Linked DNA regions of Homo sapiens: region 1 is linked to region 2. The links are contacts of gene promoters, found by promoter capture Hi-C in blood cells and fetal thymus (Javierre and others, 2016). All regions are on one chromosome and are shown on one strand. The core of a region is centred on a gene start or on the middle of the fragment in contact, and the rest is flanking DNA. Distances in the headings are between cores, read along the strand shown.

Region 1 (6,530 bases), core at 3,698-6,197, 650 kb before region 2:
GAAACAACAGGAAAGTCATCCACGCAGAACTAACAACTAGGACAGGGCTGTGCCACACACAGTAGACGTGCGTAAAGCTTGTTGGATTGAATTCAGTCATCACTGTGGGACCTGTAGGTTATTCTAGGACAAACCGAATCTTCCTAGGCCCACTGGGAGGACAGAATAAATTCCATTTGTTCAGTGGACCTGGCCTTCTAAAGGATTCTCAGGGGCCTACTCTGTGGGTCACAGCCCTGGTAGCTGGTACAAGGTTCATAATGGTAAGAAATTATTCAGAATGTGAAAGGCAAAAAGATAACCGTGTACCCTTTCCAAGCCCTGATAGAGCGTTGTCTTCACAAGGCAGCCTCTGGGCCAGCTGGGTCTCGGAAGATGTTAGTTCGAGCGGCTCACCATGTGCTATGGGTTAGGACTCAGCCTCTGGAGTTAGAGGTTATGTCTGTTTGTTCCTGTAAGACACTAAAAAACTTTGTCTCTAACTGTGCCATCTTATTCCAGCATTCTTTTTTTCCTACTAAATACACGTGTGTGTGTATGTTACGTACATACATGTGTGCATAATAGTCCTCATCTCCGCCTTTGACTTGCTTTCTCATCCTGCTCCTTAAAGAGTTCAATACATTTTTTGACACACGCTCGCTGTATATTAACATCAGAATCATGTTTTTAACCTTTGGGAAGTTATACTTTGACAAGTGAGGGTCCTTATATCCTCAGCAGGATTTGGGAAATCTGAAATAGCTATACTAATGGCTTCAAAGGTTCATATTAAATGCTAGTGGAGTGGACGTCATGGTGCGCCACCCAGATGGACCTCCCTTTTAGGGCTGAGGTGTTCGTCCTTCCAGGTGTCTCCTTCCAGATGCTGGAGGTACAGCCCCTGAAGCCTGTCGGTGGACTTCCTGTCTGGGAATTGCCCTTGGCTGAAGGAGGTTGCCTCGCCAAGGTTAAACCTCCTCCTGGGGCAGCCTGTATCTGATGACTGGATCAGTTCAGTGTACAAAGCCCCTTGCCTGGAGGTAGGACAACTCTGAGTTAGCCATCCTAGCTTCAGAGCTCCCTGTGGGGTCACCTGAGGGCTCTGCAGAGACTGCATTGCAGTCTAAGTTCTCCCTCCTGCTTCCTTCACGCCTCCCCACCCCAGCCACTCTGCATACATGCCCCGCATGCCAGTTGGTCTGAGAGTTTCCCAAAGAACCCATCCAGAGCCAGCTGGGCGTTGTGCTAAGGCTTTTCATGTGCTAGCTCTCCTAACCTTCCAGACAACATTCCGAGAGAGGCATGGATGTTACCATGCTCTTTTCACCATGAGGGACCCGAGACTCAGGCTAAGCCACTGGTCCGAGGTCACATGCAACCAGGAAGTACAGAGCTGGGCTTCCAACCCCAAGGTGTGTTTTGGAGCCTGCACTTGGCCTAGTTCACCACAGCCCAAAGTGCCTGCCCAGACAAATCAGACTGACCCAGCCCCTAGAGGCTCTTGCTAGTCTACACACCTTCTAGCTTCATTTTCCCAATCAATCTCCTCAACCAGCTTCCCTCACCAGAAATTGTTGCTGACTTTGAAAATCCTTGAGAATCTTCTGCTGAGGGCGTTTCATCCATCTTTGTATCGCTCACGCAAGCAGAATATGTGCACCTTCCACCTGGGAGCACAGTTGCTATGAGATTTTTTTTCCCTCATCCAGAAGGCAACCCATTTCATAACTGCTCATTTATGAAGCAACTACGAATGAATATCTACTCCATTCTAAGCATTTTGCTAGGGATGGGGATGGAGCAGAGAACAAGACTAGAAAGTGTCCCCATCCTCCTGGAGCTTGTAGTCTAGCAGTGAAGAGAGACAGTAGACAATTTTAAAAGTCATTATTTGCAATTGTGATGGATGTGAAGGTCAAGCCTGCTGTTATACATATTCTTTTTCTTTTATTTCTTTTTTTTTTTTTTTTTTTGAGATGGAGTCGTGCTCTGCTGCCCAGGCTGGAGTGCAGTGGCACAATCTCAGCTCACTGCAGCCTCTGCCCCCGAGGTTCAAGCAATTCTCCAGCCTCAGCCTCCCGAGTAGCTGGGATTACAGGCGTGCGCCACCACATCCAGCTAATTTTTGTATTTTTAGTAGAGACGGGTTTTACCATGTTGGCCAGGCTGGTCTCAAACTCCTGATCTCAGGTGATCCACCTGCCTTGGCCTCCCAAAGTGCTGGGATTACAGGAGTGAGTCACCACGCCCAGCCCACATTTTCATATCATTACAGTTTGTGATGATACATTGATTTGTGAGATTCTTTGATTAAGGTCTATCTCCCTCACTGTAAGTGTCATGACAGCAAGACTGTCATATTCCTATCACCCAACATAGATATTGAGTAAATATTTGTGAGTGAATAAACACAGTTGTTACTGAGAAACTCTTTGAATTAAAATTATGGCCTCTGCCAGGCACAGTGGCTCACACCTGTAACCCCAGGACTTTGGGAAGCCAAGGCAGGTGGATCACTTAAGCCCAGGAGTTCAAGACCAGCCTGGGCAGCATAGTGGGACCTTTTCTCTACAAAAATTAAAATAACAGCCAGGCATGATGGTGCATGCCTATAGTCCCAGATACTTGGGAAGCTAAGGTGGGAGGATAGCTTGAGCCCAAGATACTTGGGAGGCTAAGGCAGGAAGTTAGTTGAAGGCTGCAGTGAGCTGTGATGGTGCCAATGTACTCCAGCCTGGGTAACAGAGGCCTTATCTCTAATATATTCATAAAAATATAATATAATAAAATTGTGGCCTTGGATCTGCATGTGTTTCTGCCAGACCCACAGTCTGATAAAGATAAAGGTCCCAGGGACCCTACTTTTCATATTTGCTATTGAATCCCCAGCACCGAGAACAGCACCTGCCACACAGTGGACACACGATAAATCTTTGTTGAATGAATGATTTCTCTATTGAGAATAAATATACCAGTTTGAATGGTCCCAGTACATATAGCAGAAAGCGATTTCAATATTAAGGGTATTTATCACACCTAATATATAACAAGCTCCAAAGGCAGCTCAATGGCGTCAGGATTCTAAGGCAGCATCTCTTTGAGTGTCTTGGCTCTGAAGAAGGTCGCTGCAGCACCAGCATCCCAACTGCACACCATCATGGTCAAAGGCAAGAAGTCAGTGGCAGGCTGCTCCTTGTTACTGCACCTTCCTTTAGCCAGGGAGGAAACCCTCTCCCAGAAGCCCCCAGCAGCAGATTTCTACTTCTCATTGGCCAGTACTAGGTCTTCCACCTACCCCTCAGCTCATCACCTGCCAAAGGGAGTGAGATTATCCCATGTTATTAGTTGAGGTAATGCTCGCTTCTGTAACAACCACAGCACACCTAAAATGCAGAATGGCTCAAATACAAGTTTTTTTCTTCCTTATGTGAAGTCCCAAACAGATGTGCCTGATTACAACGCTCCTCTGAGTCCTAAGTCAGAGACCAGACTCTCTCCATCTTGTGGCCCCCTCATCTTCCAATTGTATCACGTTTTTCTGCATCAAGCTGACAGAACAGGGAAAGAGTATGGAGAAGACACATGACTTCTTAACCACCTGGGCCCCTAAGGGACATGTACTACTTCCTCTCACATTCCGTTAGTACAACTAGTCATGTGGCCCTACTTAGATGCAAGGGATGCTGGGAAGTATATTCCCTGGCTAGTTTGCTTCTTACCAGAGATATTGCTATTCTATGGAAGAGAGAACACACATAATTTGGTGGATAGTTAGTCGTCTCTGCCATGCCATGATTGACTTAGACCAGAGCTGTTCAGTAGGAGTATCATGTGAGTCACTTGTGTCATTTTTCCATTTTCTAGTAAGGGGCCTGGGGAGGGAAGGGTGGTAAATGTTTTGAATATATTATTGTAAAATCTACCACAGAGTCCATTATGTTCTCTTTCCCTACCAGTCCAAGGGAGAGTGGGAATTGGAGTGAAAAGTTAAGACGAGACTGTGGGGTACCTAATAAATATGGGGTTGAACAAAGTAAATTCGTCAGGCAAATGAAGTTTTGGAGAGATGAATGACTTTTGAATTGGTTTTGGGGTTGTGCGTGGACACAAAAGAGACCATTTATGGTAGGAAGGGATTTGGGTATAGAGTTTCTACAGTGGGAAGGCACTGGACTTTTTCTTTTCTTTTCTTTTCTTTTTTTCTGAGTCAGAGCCTCACTCTGTTGCCCAGGCTGGAGTGCAGTGGCATAATCTCGGCTCACTGTAACCTCACCCTCCCGGGTTCAAGCGATTCTCCTGCCTCAGCCTCCAGAGTAGCTGGGATTACAGACATGCGCCACCACACTCGGCTAATTTTTGTATTTTTGTTACGGACGGGATTTCACCATGTTAGCCAGGCTGCTCTTATTTGTTTATTTCTTTGAGACAGGGTCTTGCTCTGTTGCCCAGGCCGGAGTGCAGTGGCGCAATCTCAGATCACTACAAGTTCTGCCTCCCGGGCTCAGATGATTCTCCCATCTCAGTCTCCCAAGTAGCTGGGACAACAGGTTCCTACCACCATGCCTGGCTAATTCTTTGTGTTTTTTTGTAGAGACGGTGTTTTGCCATGTTGTGTGGGCTGGTCTCAAACTCCTCCTTTTTGCCTTGCGTTAATGTAGGTAGACTATCTCAAAATGTTTTTCAAAATAATTGCTGAGTTGTAAGACACTGCTTTAAAACCACAGATATTATATGTCTTTCAGAACCAGAGCCAAGCCACTACACCTATTACATTACAAAAGAGTTCATCAGAAATAATTTATAGGACCAGAGGACTGACTGGTAGCAACTACCAAATTTTGTTTAGGAATTTGTCCTCCATCTCAGTAGGAAAACAGACATACAGGCAGTGACTAGAATGAGCAAAAAGAAACCTGCAGCATAAGCCTGTCTAAAAACATTTTCATCCAAACAATATAAATCAGTTCTGTCTGCACTCTGCTGTTGACAAAGCCATTTAAAAAGCAAAGGTAAAGAAAGGACAGCGTCCACAAAAAAATGCCTATATCATGGGATGGAAGACAAGGAGGAGGGAACAGGGCCAGCTAAGCATTATACATTAAATTTCATTAATAGCGTTAAGCCACACAACCAAAGTCAGATCGTTAAGGCAAGGGAAAATGCACCTGGTTCTGCCAGTCCTGGGTTCTAAGCGCTAATGGAGATGCTGAAGTCACACCATCACCATACAAACTAGGGTCAATCTGGACAACAGTGTTTTCAAGGGTTGAGAAAGCTATTTGTCCTACTGCTTCACAATTTTCTTTTTCTCACGTCAGCATTTAAAAAAGAAAGCCACACAGAAGGGTGGCGGGAGAACGTGCCAAGGCAGCTGATAGGTCTCCCCAGAAGCTGATGCTCTCCAAAAAATGACGATGGCAGTATGTACTTTGTCTAAGTCTGCATTGCAGCCTGAATTGCTCCTTTTAAAACTGTTTACATTTTTCTCTGGTTTAAGGATTTTAAAACTACCCTGAATTACAGCAAGCCTCTATGTCCATGTTCTGGTTTGCAGGGAGTACAAGCGATGCAGCAGTGGTTCTCGTTTGAGGGTGCGTCAGAGTCACCTGGAGACTTGCTGAAATGAAGTTTGCTGGGCCCTACTCCTAGAGTTAGTTTCTTTCTTTTTCTTTCTTTCTTTCTTTCTCTTTCTTTCTTTCCTTCCTTCCTTCCTTCCTCCTTCCTTCCTTCCCTCCCTCCTTCCCTCCCTCCTTCCCTCCCTCCTTCCCTCCCTCCTTCCTTCCTTCCTTCCTTCCCTCCCTCCCTCCCTCCCTCCCTCCCTCCCTCCCTCCCTCCCTCCTTTCTTTCTTTCTTTCTTTCTTTCTTTCTTTCTTTCTTTCTTTCTTTCTTTCTTTCTTTCTTTCTTTCTTTCAGAGTCTTGCTCTGTCACACAGGCTGGAGTGCAATGGTGCAATCTCGGCTCACTGCAACCTCTGCCCCCCAGGTTCAAGTAATTCTCCTGCCTCAGCCTCCCGAGTAGCTGGGATTATAGGTGTGAACCACCACGCCTGGCTAATTTTTGTGTTTTTAGTAGAGACAGGGTTTCCCCATGTTGGCCAGGCTGGTCTTGAACTCCTGACCTCGGAAGATCCACCCACCTCAGCCTCCCAAAGTGCTTGGATTACAGTGAGCCACCATGCCCAGCCCTAGAGTTTCTGATTTGGTGGCTTGAAGCAGGAGCTTCACTATGTAGTGTATGGTCCCACCCTTGCTTGTTTTCTTCTGATATGACAGTGGTAAGCTCTCCGGCAGGGTCTATTCTTTCAGTCTGGATCCCAGACAGAAGAGTCAAAGTTGCCCCACGATGGATGTGAAATGTAAGTGAGAAATAAACATTTGCTGTTCTTTCTTTCTCCAAGCCACTGAGGTTTTGGGATTGTTATTGTAGCATAGCTTATTCTTACCAATACAAATTCCTTGTTTGAAGCAGAGCTGGCATTCTGCAGCAGATTTGGCTTCACATGAAACCCAAAGGAAAGGAAAGGCAAGGGAGATGATACTCCGTTTCT
Region 2 (5,889 bases), core at 45-2,544:
CTGTACTAAGTAGAGCGGTATCAAGTCCTGGGGGAAATACCAGAATCCCGAGGCCTGCAGTTACACCAATTAACACGACCTCACTGTGCCTAGGGGGGTCAGAATGCTAGCTCAGGTGTTAGGCACCTCTAAATGCTGAGGCCATGAAATAGTGCTAAACTCTACCCCCCACCCCTCAAGCATCGTTGCTCTTTGCTTTAGCTACTTGTACCCTAAGAATGTGTAGGTAAGGGGAGGGGAGGGCAGCGTCCTCTGAGTTCTGCTTCGGCGCTCCTGAACTCACTGCCAAGAAAAGCTCAGATGTTGAGGGAGAGGGAAGAGGAGGAAGTTTGTTTCTGAAGAGGCTGACCTTCTGTGAACCCGCCTCAGAACTGAGCACAGGTGTTCAAGAAATGTATACCGAACTGGAGACTCAATAAATAACACTATTCAACACACATGTTATCGATTATGTGCCAGGTGCTATTTGGAATCGTTTCCACACGTGTCACTCGTTGAATCCTCAAGACAACCCCAAGAGGTGGGGACTCTTATTATCTCCATTTTAGAGTTAACTGATAACATTTCAGAGATAACTCTTATCTCCATTTAGAGATTAACTCCACTTCGAGCAAACATTTTAGGAAACCGGGTCCCCGGGACGTTTAAAAACTTGCTCAAGGTCACAGGGCTAGTCAATGGTGAGGGTGCTGTTTGAACGAAGCCACCCTGTCTCCAGATTCTACGCTATTACAAAGCCTCTCGGTCAAGAGAAATTAAGTTAGAAGATCCGAAATGAGTGGGGTCAATTGGAGACTCGAAGGAGGCCGAGGCCACCCTTTCCGTGTCCTGTAACCCAACAGGCACCTCTTGAGCACACCGACTTCGCCTGGCGCACAGCTGGGCCCGGGGGCGGGAGGTGGGTGTCGAGAAGGGGGAAGTTCACACGGACCTTGGCGTGATCCCGGTCCGTGCCGCTTCTCCCGAGGCCAGGAACGGAATGCAGGGCGCGGAGGCGAAGTAAAGGCTCCCCGGCTCCCCTGGCGCCTTCCACCCCGCTCTGGGTGGCCCGGCCTGGCCCGCCCTGCCCTCCGGCCCCGCCTCAGCCCCACTCGCGCCCCATCCCGGCCCGCCCGGGAGGTCTCACCGGCTTCTGAGAAGCGCCAGACAGCACGCGGGAGACGGCGGCGAGCATCTTCCTCATGAAGCACAGGCAGTGGCGGCAGCGGCGACTCCTCACAACCCAGGAGGCACGACGCGGGTGCCCCCAAGTCTCCTTCAGGTGCCCCAGCAGACGCCACGCCTCAGTCGCACCGCGGCGTGACAGAGTCGTAATAACGTCATGCGCTGCGCCGGGCCGCGGGCCAACCAGAACGGCGTCCAGGGGGTGCCCCGCCCCCGCTAAAGGCCTGAGGCTGCCCATTGGGTATCAGCGCCAGAGAGGGAGGGGCTGAGGGCTCTTTCCGACGCCACGCCGCGGGCGGGTGAGGAGGCGGGGCTTGATAGCGCCTGCGTGGGAAGGTGGGGCCCCCGCCTCCAGGGCGCCGCGGGAAAGGAGCCTTCCTAGATTCCGCTCTGCTGACTACCGGGGAGGTTGTGCAGGCCCCGTCCTACCGAGCGCCTACTCCTGCCGGTGCTGCAGCTCTGCAGCCCTCGTTCAGTACATCTCGTTCAGTACACTAGATGATGAAGATTAGCAGCATGCTCAGAGCCAAAAGACAGAACATCTGGTTTCTGTAAATGGTCTGCCACTAACTTTGTCTTTAAAAGATCACGTAGCAGTTGGACAGTTCTGCCCTGTCTACTTGAACGCGGATCAAAAAATTTGTTTCCCAATATATGTCGAGAGGACAATGGGAAAAATCTTTTTTCTCTAGTTATTGGTTCACAGGCTCACTGCGAGTTAACAGCGTGGCTCAGCCGATGATAAAAGCACACACAGAGACAAAACACCAAAGCAACAAGGGGCTCTATTCAGAGGATCAAAGGGCTCAGGAACCCATTGTGTTGTGTCCTAGTGGGATTGCACCTGGGGTTCCGGGTTCAGATTTGGGCTCCACATTTTAAGGGGGATAATGAGTAAACTGAGTGGAATCCAGGGGACAGTGGTCAGAACGGTGAGGGGCTGCGATTGTGACTTATGAAGAACGATTAAAGAAGTTAGGAAGAAAACAGGCTAACTAGAATTGGCTGGGTTATGATGTAACAACTGACCTCCAAATTTCAGTGATTTCAAGAATTTGAAGTGACGCGAGCCATCGTACTCGTAACACAGGTCCCTCACAGCGTGGCACCCTCTCTCTGGAACTTAGCTTGTCTCATGGATGAAGAGAAAAGGGATCATTTAAACCGGCTCTCAAAGCTTCTGCCCAGAAGTGACACATGTCACTTCCTCTCAATTTTCACGGACCAGAGCTAGTTACCCGACCATGTCTGAGTTCCACAAGGTGAAATATAATCCTCCTGCCAGGAGGAGAACAGAAAATTGGATGAACAGTAAAACCAGAGAGGATTGGATATGTCTTCACACATTTTCAGGCCAGTCATGTTCCAGGAGGAAGAGCTATTTTGTGTGTGTGTGTGTGTGTGTGTGAATAAAATCATTTCATTTCAGCATAACAATGAATTTTCTAACAATGACAATGGTCCAATGAGATAATTCTCTCCCAGTGTCACTGAAAGTATTCAAAGCAGAAGTTCAAAGCATGACCAGCTCTCAGCATAGCTAGAGAAATAATTTGGGCACTGGGCCAGACTCTGGACTGAGAGATCGTGTTGCAGTGGAAGAAAACTTCTTAAAGGAGTGAGAGGGCGCCATTAAAAGGCAGAGATGGACGTGAGAAACTTGCATGGTATGATTTCAGCAGCTGCTGCTGCTGATAGAATATGAAAGGTAAAAGAGAATGAAAAGGTTGGAGGCCAGATGTCCAGCTCAGGAGAAAAAGCTGGTCTGAATGGTTTGGGACATGTTGACCTGGTGGTGGCAGTGGCACAGCTATCTGAAGATGTCCCCCGGGAAGTTGGAGTTGTAAGTCTGGAACATTTGCTAAAAATATTAATTTGGGAGTCATCTCCACGGGGTGGTGATATTGGTTGTGCATGTACGGGAACTCTGTAGGCCATATGAATATGAATTCATTCATTCATTTGCTCATTCATCCAACACCTATTATTGAGCACCGATTTTGTGTCAGACACTGTACTACACACTGAAGATATAGCAAGGAACAAGTAAAATATAGGTCCTACTTAAATACATGATTGAACAAATCAATGGGTTAGAAGGAACAACTTTTCCTTACAGTAGAATTCCAATTAATTAATATAGAAGGAATGATGAAAATAGAAAAAGAAAATCACCATTTGGCAAAGACCACAGTAACTGTTGCAGGTGAGAATTATCATCAATACAGGCTAAAATTAGTGGGTAAATGTATGATGAGAAACAGGACATTTGCCTCATCTCAAATGATCTCTCCACTAGATTCATTACAAAGTTTAAAGTAACTTTGCAGTGCAGAAACAAAGTAACCAATTTTTCAATGACTAGGATATTTTCTCTGCACTTCTTGTTCTTCATATATATACATATATATACACACATACGTGTATATATATATATTTTATTTATTTATTTTTTTGAGACAGAGTCTCGCTCTGTCGCCCAGGCTGGAGTGTAGTGGTGCAATTTCAACTCACTGCAAGCTCCGCCTCCCAGGTTCACGCCATTCTCCTGCCTCAGCCTCCCGAGTAGCTGGGACTACAGGTGCCCGCCACCACGCCCGGTTAATTTTTTTTGTATTTTTCGTAGAGACAGGGTTTCACCATGTTAGACAGTATGGTCTTGATCTCCTGACCTCGTGATCCGCCCGTCTCAGCCTCCCAAAGTGCTGGGATTATAGGCATGAGACACTGCGCCCGGCCTCTTTTTTTTTTTTTTTTTTTTGAGACAGATTCTCACTCTGTTGCCCAGGATGGAGTACAGTGGTGACATCTTGGCTCACTGCAACATCTGACTCCCAGGTTCAAGTGATACTCCTCATTCAGCCTCCCGAGTAGCTGGGAAAACGGGCGAGCACCACCATGCCCGACTAATTTTGTATTTTTTTAGTAGAGACGGGGTTTCACCATGTTGGCCAGGCTGGTCTCAAACTCCTGACCTCAGGTGATCTGCCCACCTTGGCCTCCCAAAGTGCTGGGATTACAGGTGTGAGCCACCGCGCCCAGCTGTTTTCAGATATTTGAAAGCAGAGTTGGAAGCAACTTTGAAGGTGAGGGACACTGTGAGATGCTGTGTCAAGTGGTGACAGGTGATGATTGTGGTTAATAGTCATTAACTATAGGCTATAGTAACGTTATAGTAATGTTATAGTCATTAACTATAGGCTATAATAACTATAGGCTATAGTAACGCGCTAGAACATTCACAAAAGACTCTTGTATCAGGAGAGGAGGCCGGAGAGAAAGAAAGATTTGCAAAAGGCGGGAAGAGAAAGTCTTAAGAAAGGAGGGCTCGTTAATCTTGGGGGAAATTGTAATCCCAGCACTTTGGGAGACCAAGGCAGGAGGATCACTTGAGGCCAGGAGTTTGAGGCCAGCCTGGGCCACAAAGTGATACTCGTCTGTACAAAAAATAAAATAATTAGTCTGGTATGGTGTTGCATGCCTGTAGTCCCAGCTACTAGGGATGCTGACGAGGGAGGATTGCTTGAGCCTAGGAGTTTGAGGCTGCAGTAAGCTATGGCGGCATCGCTGCATGGCGGCCTGGGTGACAGGGCGAGACCCCATCTCTCTAAAAAACAAAACAAAAAAAACGTATCTGGGTGAAGCAGGGCAATTTTGATTAGAGACCCTGAAATATGCCTTTTTACCTTTCGTTAGCGAATCACCCTACAAGTATTCGATCAAGCTGAGCTTTAAGGCAAATCATGCTCCTTGACATGTCTCCGGTTTTCCAGTAAGAAACACCCATCCCCCAGCAGATGAATTAGAGTAGGACAATCATATACATGTGTCATAAAAGTCAACAAATCTTTGCAAATGTCTTTGAGGTACTAAGCAGCAGCTGGTGAAAGGATTATGGCTAGGGGTCATTTTAACTTTGGAACCATATAAATGTTTTTACACGACCATAAAACACAATGACATAACAATGGAAATGAAATATAACAAACCAATTTAATAACATACCAAGTTGTCAGCATAACCCCGCAGAGAATGATTTCAAGTTATTTCACACCACAGCAATGTGACTGCATATGCCTGGTGGGGTATAGCCTAAAGACAAAAGGAACTGGAAAAAAAAATCTTAAGGCGAGGCTCACACCTGTAATCCTAGCACTTTGGGAGGCTGAGGTGGGAGGATCATTTGAACCCGGGAGTTTGAGACCAGCCTAGGCAACATAGGGAGACCCCATCTCTACAGAAAAAAATCTTAAATTGTTCTCATTTGTCAGGTGTTATTATTTAAGACTGCACATACCCACACTGATAAAGTAAATATATAATTATGTTAATGCCATTGGGAACCAAGATTTTCAGTATAAAAAACAGAGACACAAATGTAAAATTCAACAGGTCAAAGCCAAGAGGTCCTGAATTTGAATTGGAAATATCAGTATAAACTCATGATTATTTCCCCCCCTCAAGATACACACACACACACACACACACACACATACATACATCTTGGCTAGGCTCGGTAGCTCACACTTGTAATCCCAGTACTTTAGGAGGCCAAGGTGGGCAGATCACTTGAGCTCAGGAGTTCAAGACCAGCCTGGGCAACATGGTAAGACCCTGTCTCTACACGATATAAAAAATTAGCCGGCCATGGTGGCGCATACCAGCAGTCCTAGCTACTAGGGAGGCCAAGGTAGGAGGATCACCTGTGCCTGGGAAGTGGAGGCT

The links. Contacts are between HindIII fragments. The CHiCAGO score rates a contact against its expected background, and 5 or more counts as called.
Region 1: a fragment that was not itself captured here is called in contact with the fragment with the promoter of PDHA1 in region 2 in 1 of 17 cell types (neutrophils); the score reaches 9.5 in neutrophils.

The regions. Positions count from the first base shown.
Region 1 is chrX:19,994,956-20,001,485 of GRCh38, reverse strand. No RefSeq gene overlaps it. Among named protein-coding and RNA genes, the nearest start is that of BCLAF3, 7.2 kb to the right of the region's middle. The HindIII fragment of the contact is 9,736 bases long and covers 80-6,530 here.
Region 2 is chrX:19,339,332-19,345,220 of GRCh38, reverse strand. It overlaps PDHA1 (pyruvate dehydrogenase E1 subunit alpha 1), which reads right to left and starts at 1,294. Exons shown (of 11, transcript NM_000284.4): 1 at 1,127-1,294. The coding sequence starts at 1,183. The HindIII fragment of the contact is 3,035 bases long and covers 1-2,343 here.